Linked DNA regions of Homo sapiens: region 1 is linked to region 2. Evidence: promoter capture Hi-C in 16 types of primary human blood cells and fetal thymus (Javierre and others, 2016). All regions are on one chromosome and are shown on one strand. The core of a region is centred on a gene start or on the middle of the fragment in contact, and the rest is flanking DNA. Distances in the headings are between cores, read along the strand shown. Region 1 overlaps WDR26 (WD repeat domain 26). Region 2 holds the start of SDE2 (spliceosome associated SDE2).

What was found. The method cuts DNA at HindIII sites, captures the fragments that hold promoters and counts their contacts. A CHiCAGO score of 5 or more calls a contact.
Region 1: a contact is called between a fragment that was not itself captured here and the fragment with the promoter of SDE2 in region 2, in 1 of 17 cell types (neutrophils). The highest score is 5.7, in neutrophils.

The regions. Positions count from the first base shown.
Region 1 is chr1:224,424,241-224,430,252 of GRCh38, forward strand. It overlaps WDR26 (WD repeat domain 26), which reads right to left. Exons shown (of 14, transcript NM_001379403.1): 4 at 278-414. Among named protein-coding and RNA genes, the nearest start is that of WDR26, 7.6 kb to the right of the region's middle. RefSeq lists enhancers at 4,141-4,730, 4,731-5,320. The HindIII fragment of the contact is 1,029 bases long and covers 1,039-2,067 here.
Region 2 is chr1:225,997,264-226,002,592 of GRCh38, forward strand. It overlaps SDE2 (spliceosome associated SDE2), which reads right to left and starts at 2,080. Exons shown (of 7, transcript NM_152608.4): 1 at 1,930-2,080. The coding sequence starts at 2,049. RefSeq lists enhancers at 1,935-2,044, 2,565-2,714, 2,735-2,834, 2,915-2,964 and a silencer at 2,105-2,384. The HindIII fragment of the contact is 16,010 bases long and covers 1,271-5,329 here.

The DNA of each region.
Region 1 (6,012 bases), core at 303-2,802, 1.6 Mb before region 2:
TCCTTGGAATGTAATAGGGTTTTCATAGAACATTCTAAAATAGCATTTCACAGGCAATACATATTTTCTTCTCCCTTTCACCCACTTAAATATATCTCTATCCTAATCTGAACAGTTTCCTAGAATGACCAAAATAGTTGATCCACACAGGAGTGAGTTTACCTAGACAAATATCTAAGAATTTAGCAATAATCAAGATTTTATATTTTGGAAAAATGTTAAAGAAATATAACTTTGGCCCTCCATTAACCTGAGTTCAAGAACTCAGTTTCCTTACCCACTAAGAACATGAATGCGCTCTGTATTGTATTTCAGCGGCGTCAATTCACAGCGTAGAACTTGAAGTGCCTCCAGGACCTTGCCATCCTCCAGGTATTCTAGGTACTTCTGCTGCAGCAGCAAAAACTTCATCCTCTGACATGACAGAAAGCAGCAGTCAGGGGAAAAAAGTTGATGGAAGTTTCAGAAAATGTTTGTGCCTAAACAGAACAGTAGAAACCATTCTACTATGCCCTTTGAAATAACTTTTTATAAAGCTTCAAGATGACTCAAAATATTTTAGTTTAGTAGAGCCACAGTAGATTAAATGTGACTTTGCTCAATTCCACATCTTACTAAAACTCTGCTTTGAACAAATAATCTCAAATCAGACTAGATCATTAGTGACTGAGGCATCAGCCTTGGAAAAAATGAATTCTCCTCTCAAAGCAATCTCCTACAATTGTAGTTCTTGTATAAAAATTTAGAACTATTCCAAGTACTTGAAATTTGCTTTTTAAGAAGTATGACTTTATAACTAGGGCACTGGGGGGTTTTATGCAACAAGTTTTGAAAAGATTAGAGAAAAAAATAGCAAATGAACTATTTAAGTCACAATGTGAAAGAGGGAATAAGTAGACCAGAAATCAGAACTAGACACACTCAGGAGAAGGAGAAAAGTATATTTTGGCTTATCAAAAGTTAAGAGCTGTCCAACAAATGTACTACAAGTTGGTGTGCAAAGTATTGAATTTCCTACAACTAACGTGGACAAGCATAAGCTTGATGCACTCACTCTCTTCTAGGCGGCTATTAAGGGATGTCTACGTTAGATGGTTGAACTTAAAGGTTTTTAAAAAGATTCAATATTTGTACTTGTGTATTTCTGACAATCTGATCACTGATGCATTTAAAAGTGAAGCACAGGAAATTATTATTCGCTCTTTTCTCCCCTAAACCAATAAACCACTTTCCAGCTGTGAGACACTTTCACATTTAGTTTTTTCCTGAACTGTGTTTTTGACTTTAATACTTTTAAATGCTACTTTATTATTTTACTTTTAACTTGAAACCACGTGGTCACAATCTTAGCAGTTTTTTACAAGAGAAAAGGGATATTTATAAACATCATTTTGAAACTTCTTTTAAACCTTAAACCTAATTAAGGACCACAGGTTGGAGGGACCTTTTCATCATAGTTGCTACTTGTGGAGCTTGAGCAAGCCAATTAATGTAAACAGAGACATCAGTAGGTAGGAAATGTTAGTCATATTTAGAGACTCCAAGGAATACAGCGGTAAAGATCTCAAGTCCACTTAAAATTAAAACTTAAAGTACAATTTTTCTTCTTCGTAAGATGCTTTTCTTCTTTTTTTTTTGAGACAGAGTCTCACTGTGGCCCAGGCTAGAGTGCAGTGGCGTGATCTTGGCTTACTACAACCTCTGCCTCCTGGGTTCACGCGATTCTCCTGCCTCAGCCTCCTAAGTAGCTGGGATTACAGGCACCCGCCACCACACCCAGCTAATTTTTGTATTTTTAGTAGAGACAGGGTTTTGCCATGTTGGCCAGGCTGGTCTTGAACTCCTGACCTCAAGTGATCTGCCCACCTTGGCCTCCCAAAGTGCTGGGATTACAGGCATGAGACACCGCACCCGGCCCAAAATGCTTACTTTAAAACCATAAAAAAATACACTGCTGTCACGAAATGCTGTGGAGAAATTACCATTTATTTGCAGAATTAACAGTATAATAAACTGCTCTACAAGATTTTCTATCAAGGAGTATTTAGAAGAGAGATATAAACTGTAAGCTTATAAAAGTGGTTTCTAGAGAAAGTAAGCAATAATAAACCCTCTCATATAAGTTAGGCATGTATTTAAATTTATAAGATACATTTCTTTTGCTTGATACAAATCTCATCTTAAATATACGGCTAAGGAACAGAAAAAAATTCAAACTGAGACACTCCTGTAACTCTGGGAAAATTACACTTATCAAATTTTACATATAAATTTAGAATGACTAATGAATGTTTCAGAAATACATTAATTACCAAGATGCTCTGAAAAGTACATTACTGTACATACAGCCTGAAGTTAACCTTTCTATGTTAAATGAAAAAACTTTGTCATTCATCAGGTCACAGAAACCAAAAACTAAACAATGCAAAAAAAAAAAAAATCTAAAAATAAAAGAATTTTATATTTGAAGTTATTCTGGATATTCGCACCATTTTAGCTTCTGAAAAAAATGCAACTATGAAATGAAGACCTCATATATTTTCATTTATCAATATAATGTTAAAAGTTTCATTCCACCGGGTGTGGTGGCTCACACCTGTAATCCCAGCACTTTGGGAGGCTGAGGCGGGTGGATCACGAGGTCAGCAGTTCGAGACCAGCCTGACAAACATGGTGAAACCCCGTCTCTACTAAAAAAAAAAATACAAAAAAATTAGCTGGGTGTGGCAGCGGGTGCCTGTAATCCCAGCTACTTCGGAGGCTGAGGCAGGAGAATCGATTGAAACTGGAAGGTGGAGGTTGCAGTGAGCCGAGATTGTGCTACTGCACTCTAGCCTGGGCAACGAGAGCAAAACTCTGTCTCCAAAAAAAAAAAAAAAAAAAAAAAGTTTCATTCCATTTTGTGGTATTTTTTAAATTCAAACTTGAAAATCTTATTCAGTTGCAGAACTTTTTCATTTAAATGTCACATGGAACTGGCCAGAGCATGAGATGTAATTTCTTCACTAAATTTTCTTAGTAATTGGGAATTGAGGGGCTTAAAAAAAAATTTCAGGGCAAGTTTTTTATTTACTTAATATTTATTTTTTTTGGTATCAATCATTAGGCTCCTATGCCCACCCCTCCCCCATTCCAATGTGTGCAGGGACAGTGCCCAAAGCGCTATTTCTCCCTTATTTTCCCACCAAGATCTTGATACAACATGTTACTCTTTTTCTATGGGGCAGAGGTGGGGCAGGAGAGCAGAGAAAGGCTGACTAAAACTCTGAGAGAAGCCAATATAAACACATATTTCTGTATATACAGGGAATGCTATAAAAGTAGCACAAGAGCATTTCTCTATGAGTCATTTTATCCAGATCAAGACCAAGAATATTCTCAAACAGATATCAAATCCTGGTATTGTGCATGGCAACTAACATGCTGCTGGCCAAGCACAGCTAGAGATCTGTTTGAAAGAAAATGTTTATTCTCCAAAAAATCAGTTGAAGTATTTGACACATACGATAAGGGTGGGGAGTAAAACTGTATTTTACCTCCCAAAATTTAAAGCACAAAAATGTAAATATAACCTCAAGAAAGCAAAGACCCTTTAATTAACAAATAATGTTAAATATTTACTGAAAACATTGTAAAAATCAGACAAAATTAAAGCTTGCTGAGATGGGGACAGGGCTCTACTAATGTTTATATTTTTTAAAAAATCTTGAAGAAATAAAGACAAAAAAAGATTAGGAAAATAAACTCTCCTTTATGTCTTTCCCCAACTCCCAACTAGATCTCTTAAGAGATTATTTCTGGTCTCTAATGATTTTTTACCATCTCTGGGCCCAGCAAGATCTCCTTCTCCATTTTAATATCTAATAAATTTGAAATTGTTAAGTGACTAGGATAGCTTGAATGATAGTTTCACGTCGTAAATTCTGCTGTTGCTCCCCTAGTCCACCCAATACTGAATTGCTTTATTCCTTCCTTTGCTCCCATATTATTAAACTGAACTCAACATGAAAGAAAAACCCAGAAATTACGATACTTAGAAAGTCTGGTTCTCAAGGGCGGCCTCCTAGCTAATTCAGTAATGGTTCTAACTCTGGAGTAAGGTCATAACCAAATCTTATCAATTAAATCATGATTTCTCAGAGAAAAGGGGAAATAAATTATATCTAAACTTGGCACTCAAAACTCCTATTTGACTTTAAAATATACTAGTTAATTATAGATGCCAATTTTTCTTAAGCATATTTCCATTATATTAAAAAATAACCAAATATTTCTAGACATAAAAAAAGTTTTCTATTATTGGTCTCGTATACCCATCCAAATTGCCCAGAAATGGCGAAGTATATTTGAACCCAAACTAAAAAATGCTGATTTGGCCCGGCACGGTGGCTCACGCCTATAATCCCAGCACTCTGCGAGGCTGAGGCGGGTGGATCACCTGAGGTCAGGAGTTCGAGACCAGCCTGACCAACATGGTGAAAACCCATCTCTACTAAAAATACAAAAAAAAAAAAAATTAGCCAGGCTTGGTGATGGACACCTGTAATTCCAACTACTTGGGAGGCTGAGGCAGGAGAATCTCTTGAACCCCGGAGGCAGAGGTCGCAGTGAGCCAAGATTGCGCCATTGCACTCCAGTCTGGGCAATAAGAGAAACTCCATCTCAAAAAAAAAAAAAAAATGCTGATTCATGAAAGCAACTTCTGCCATTCCTAGTACCATTTAATCGGAAACCATTTAAACAGCTGGTGCAGTGGTTCACACCTGTAATCCCAGCACTTTGGAAGGCTGGGGCGGGCGGATCACAAGGTCAGGAGTTCGGGACCAGCTTGGCCAATATGGTGAAACCCCATCTACACTAAAAATACAAAAATTAGCCGGGCATGGTGGCATGTGCCTGTAGTCCCAGCTACTTCGGAGGCTGAGGCAGTGGAATCGCTTGAACCTGGGAGGCGAGGTTGCAGTGAGCCGAGATCGCGCCACTGCACTCCAGCCTGGGCGACAGAGCGAGACTCCATCTCAAAAAAAAAAAAACAAAACAAACAAACAGACAAAAAAAACAAAGGGAGTAGGCTGTAGAGAGAGTGGATTGGGTCAATGAAAACATTCAGGCTTAAAAAATAAAGTACAATTTTAGTCTAGACTAAGCCATCAAATGTGTCTGGGTATACAATTAAAATAATTACGTTTAAAGAAACCCTAATAGTTGTCTTCTAAGATATTATTACAAATTTAAGCTTATATTAGATTCTCTTCTTCTGGAGATGGGATGGATGAGAAAAGTAAATTTAAACACAATTAGAGAGGTGAAGAGCAACTTCAAAAAATGCTGAAATTAATCTTTAAAAGCAATTGATTCATCAATGCTTAAAGTGAGATAAAAGTTGGAACCCTTTTCTTTTTATAAATACCTAAACAGTTTGATGGCATGAGGCTCAGCCAGAGATTTAATCTTCATCTTTTATTAGATCCTAGAATGTTCTACAGACTGAACAGGCTGTAAAAAGAAAGGATTCCTCCTTATTATCTATAACTACCTTTCTTCAGTTTACATGCTGCCTCTAATGAAGGTTTCTAATGAGATAGTCATAATCGAAATCCAATACAGAACTCTCAAATTACTATAAACAAATAAGAAAAAAATAGGAAGTAAGCCTATTAAATTTTTTACTACTAAATTACAGATATAATTTGGGCGAAGCTTAAACAACCTCCAAGAAATCACACACATTTTAAACCAGTCCACAGGCAAGTTCTTTATTGTCAACACACAAGTAGTGCTAACTTGCCCAATGGGAAAGCAACCTTAATTCTTCTTTTGGCCATCTAACTGTTTTTATTTTAGCTCATTCAGTCAGAAGCAAAAATTTATGCAGAACTGCTCAATAAAATGTACTTGGGTATTTTTTTTTTAAACCCCAAACACACCAACTGAGGAAACTTTAGTTAACGAAAAATTTCCAATCCCTTTGAATATAGATGTTTAACTATTTTAACTTCTGTTTTTATTTTT
Region 2 (5,329 bases), core at 830-3,329:
ACTAACTTCATCATGTCTCAGAATAGTTTTGTTTTTAAAAACATAGGTGTGAACTTGAGCTATTCTTACTTGTTCCAGTATCTCAACTAATATTCTTTTGTGTTTCTATTCATATTTGCTATGGTCATGTTCCTTAAGTTTCTGACTGAATCCACTCATTTATATTTCTTTATATATACTTTTTCAGACCGAGTCTTGCTCTGTCACCCAGTTTGGAGTGCAATGGCTCAATCTCGGCTCACTGCAACCTCCACCTCTCAGGTTCAAATGATTCTTCTGCTTCAGCCTCCTGGGTAGCTGGGATTACAGGCGTCTGCCGCCACGCCTGGCTAATTTTTGTGTATTTTTAGGAGAGATGGGGTTTCACCATGTTGCCAAGCTGGTCTCGAACTTCTGACCTCAGGTGATCTGCCCGCCTCGACCTCCCTAAGTGTTGGAATTACAGGCGTGAGCCACCACGCCTGGCCTATATTTCTTGCTTCCGATTTAAAAATTCTTTTTTCCAACATACCTCATGATTAAGATCCTATTTTTTCTGGTTTCACTTTGGATCAATTGTCAGCAAGTTTGAAAACTGTACTCATAGGCCGGGAGGAGTGGCTCAAGCCTGTAATCCCAGCACTTTGTGAGGCTGAGGTGGGCGGATCACCCGAGGTCAGGAGTTCAAGACCTGGCCAACGTGGTGAAACCCCGTCTCTACTAAAAATACAAAAATTAGCCAGGCATGGTGGCGGGCGACTGCAATCCCAGCTATTTGGGAGGCTGAGGCAGGAGAACCGCTTGAACTCAGCGAGGCGGAGGTTGCAGTGGGCCGAGATCACGCCATTGCACTCCAGCCCGGGCAACGGGAGTCAAACTCCGTCGGGGGTGGGGGAGGGGGAGAAAAGAACACTGTACTCATGAAATAAGAATTATTTTCAAAGGAATTAGAATGCAATTATTTTCATGGTCAAAAACAGTTGTGCTTACAGTTTTTAGACTGGATTACAGAGCAGGAAGGAAAACATGGAAAGTGAAAAACCGTATTATTTGCAAACACACATTGCTTCTTCACGGAATCGATCCAAGTCTCTTAAAATTTTGGTCTAGACTGCAGTGTTAACATTTGTTAAGCTTATAAATAGTAAGCAGAGGAAATAGCCGAGGAAAGCACGGATGAGGTGCGGAAAGAACAGAGTTCTAGATCAAGTGCCAACATTAAAATTAGATTCAGGGAAACCACTAAATTCTTTTGACAACTGAACAGGTTTAATATCTTATAGCTGGTAAAAGCTTACTTACTTGAAAGTTCAGTAAAAGCTCACGTGTAACTCTGGAAGTCCCTGGTAGGTTTTCACAAATATGCACGGACAAATGAGACCATCAAATTAATAGTGAACACTTCTACGTAACAGGCCCTAAGAACCCAGGCCCTCAACAGGACACACGTGTGAATGCTTGGTCACAACGACTGACCAGAAGAATCAATTTTCCTTCCCAATCATCCTTTGGCCTGGGTTTGGATATGACATACTTCTCTAGGCTGGGGCTAACAAGGCTGTGTGATGAGTGGACAAAATACACGTCACATAACCATAGTAAGAAGGTGAAGACTGGAGCCTTAAAAATCAGCCGGCCCAACTGCCAGAAGACCATTATATTTACGGATAAAGAAAGAGAAACAAAGTATTTGTAACTGTGAGCGGGACTAAGTGCCTGTAACAGTTTTTTTCTCCCTCTTGGTGGGAAGGCAAAACCACCACCACAAAAGAAAAGCAAAGGAAGGTCTCAGTAACAATTCGAAGCACCTTAACACTGAGGAACTCTCAGCCTCAACGAGTGAAAACCCCAGAGAATAAACGTACCCCCGCCCCGGACAGACCTACTCCGCACCCAGCGCTGCCACCTGTCTGCCTCTTTCTCCTTCCTAACAGGAACCGAAATCCTCACCTGATCTTGGCAGTGCCGGTGGATAAAATCCCGGACGGTGCACCGACCCGAGGCACACCGCACCGCCTTGCACCCGAAGCCAGGGCCGCGAATCCACACCAGCGCCGCGGCCTCCGCCATGTCACCGACTACCCGAACCTCAAGCCTCTCTGAGACACCAGGCGCCGCAACTCGCCCGGCGCCTCTTGATGACGCGAGCATCTTCCAACGCCCCGCCCCTCACGCTTCCGTTCACCCCTCCCCTCCCCTGGGGCGGGTCAAGTGAGCCGGGCGGCGGGGCGGTGCGGGCTGGGGGAGGGGAACAGGAAAGGCCTGGCGGAGGCAGATAAGGCGGCAGAGCACGGGGCGAGGCGTTGCTAGGAGAAGTTGCTAGGGCGGGGCTCGAGGGACCGGCTATAAAAGGCTGGCGCTGGGTTAGGTTTCGAGCTTCCTGGCCGTAAGCGATAAGGCTTTAACTGAGAACCACCTTGTGCTGTAGGCTTTGGCCCTTTTCCTCACATCTGTGTAGTTATTTTTGGGTCGCGGAGAATTGTGGCCCGAGAAGGCTCTGCTCCTTGAGAGTGTGGGGAGAGAAGCTGCAGTCCCGGAAGCGGTTTTAGGGGGCCGCTTCCTTGGCCTAGAGGAGCTCCCCAACCCGAGGGGGCAAGGGAAACGACCCCCAGGAGGCCCCTAAACAGTGGCCGGCGTGGTTTCTCCTCCAGCTTTACAGAGCCTTCTCTTCCCCTCCAGAAACAGCCAACCTCCGGGTTTCTGCCTGCCACGCACGGTTTATTCTTATTTCCGCCTGTTTGTGCACTGCGTTATCTCCACTTCAGCTCTGTTTTCAAAATATTTCACAGCAAGTGGGCTCTTGTGAAAGGCAGTGACAGGAGTGACGTTTATAGTCATGCTGCTTCAAAAAACCCTACCATAACTTTTATTCTGCACCATGGAAACACACTCGGACAGATTTGCATAACGTAACCTTAAGGCTCAGGGAATCCGAAAGAGTCCCTTAATATTTAACAGAATGAGATTATGGTATTTCTAAAACCCTGAACAATTCAAAAGCCACCAGTGTGAAGATAGGAAGGTTATTTGGAGATATCTGTGCCTGCTAAACACAAATGCATCGGCCCACAGAATTGCCTTCTCTGCTGTTAAAATGCTTGGCAAATGGAACTCCTAGCTGAGGGGGTAACAACAAAAAATTCAGAAATCGTTTAGCGGTGGCAGTATGTGCGAAAATGGAATTTCAAGGCCTGGGAAGTTAATAGATTCAGTGGTCTTTATTTCACACACGAGGGAAAGTTGGGGAGAGAAAGGGCCTCCATGGGGATGCCAGTAGATAAATAAAAATTACAAAAAAAAAAATAATAAAGATAGATTGTACTGGCCGGGCGCGGTGGCTCATGCCTGTAATCCAGCACTTTGGGAGACTGAGGCGGGCGGATCTCGAGGTCAGGAGTTCGAAACCAGCCTCACCAACATGGTGAAACCCCATCTCTACTAAAAATACAATAATTAGCCGGGCGTGGTGGTGCGCGTCTGTAATCCCAGCTATTCAGGAGGCTGAGGCAGGAGAATCGCTTGAACCCGGGAGGCAGAGGTTGCAGTGAGCTGAGATCGTGCCATCGCACTCCAGCCTGGGCGACAGAGAGAGTCTCCGTTTCAGAAAAAAAAGATATATTGTACCTAGGAAGCAGTATTTCGGAAAGGTGGTGCCATGGCAACCCTGGGGCGTGAAGGTGTCGCCAGGTTACATGTAAGCCGTCCAAACTCCAGAAACCTCAAGTCCCTCTGCAGTCTGCTCCCCAGCTCTCTGTCCTCCAGGTTCCTGAAAAAGTAATCTACAGATCTGAGCCTTAAGCCTCTTCTTTTTTTATTTGTGATTTCTTCCTTCTGGTGATCAAAAATGACTATTTCAAATAAATAAATAATTTTTTTAAATGACCATTTCAAAGGTCTGAGATCCTACAAGTAACTGTATAAAGGTCAGTTTGGGTTTCCAAAACATTTTTTGTGTCGGGATAATGCTTCGTGTCTTGTGAGGAATTATTATGATTAGTCTTTTTTTTCTTTCTTTCTTTCTTTTTTGAGACACTCGCTCTGCCACCTGGGCTGGAGTGTAGTGGCGCAATCATAGCACACGCAGCCTTGAACTCCTGGGCTCAAGTGATCTGCCACAGACTCCAGATGGATTACAGGTGCATGCCACCACACCTGGCTAATTTTTAAATTTTTTGTAAAGACGAGTTTTTCGCTAAGTTGCCCAGGCTGGTCTTGAACTCTTGGGCTCAAAAGATCCTCCCGCCTCAGCCTCCCAAAGTGCTGGGATTACAGGCGTGACCTGCCGTGCCTGGCATAAGTAGTACTTTCCAGTAAGGAAACTCCACATCATTTATTACTAACATTATATTTAGTCCTCATAAAACCTGATGTCTGAATGGAATTTTTCGCTTTTTATCCCTCTGTTGCATTTAAATTCCTATTATTTAAAGAATCCCAAGTATTGAATAGGTATTTGTCATTTAAAATATGAAATAACCATTGATATTAGCTTTTGAAAGACACAAATTTCCAAGTAATATATAATTTGTTGTTAAAACTTCAAAATGAGCGTGTAGTACCATGACATGTACAGAGTAGATATTAAGTAAATATTAGTTGGATACTTGATGGATTACTAAGGTAGAAGTTAATTATTCTCAATGTACATATGATGAAATATATTTTGCACTAATATAACAATCTATTGTAAGGATGCAGAATTTAACTTGGATTGCTATTAAATTCCTTTAAAGAATGAGGAAATTGAAGCATGTAAAGTTAGGGCTATGGCCAAGAACACAGTGCACATCAGTGAAAAAAAAAAAATCTAGAAAGACAGCTATTAGCTGGGTTACTATGGGTGTGTGGTAGCTTCCAGTTGACAGTGCTATGTGGCGGGGCTGATCAGTGATTATGGAAAAGAGCCAACTGCTGCTACCTTTCCCACCTCATGACGTCAGGGAAGGCACAGGAAGGCACGTGTGTGGTTGTGACAACTAAATGGTGAGTGGGAGGGGGGCCAGTTCCTCTATTGTCTACATAGTGTGGCCATGCTCCTCAGACTATATTTGGTGTGCTTTCCAGTAAACCACACTGGCTTTGTTCCTGCCTATGTTCTCCAGAAGAATGCTCTGGCCACACATTTGCCTTTTGAGGACTGGTTCTGCTGCCGTGAGAGGGACACTGGGAGGGCATCTTGAGGCAATGTGGAATAATTGTTCACTGCCAGGAAATGACAGCACCAGACAGACAATGTTTGTGTGGCAACCCATGACAGGGGCTCAATCGAGCCAAATGTCATGCTGGTCTGCAAGAACAGGAAGCAGAACTGTATGCTGGCAATTTCCATAAACAGCAGCCACGCTCCTAA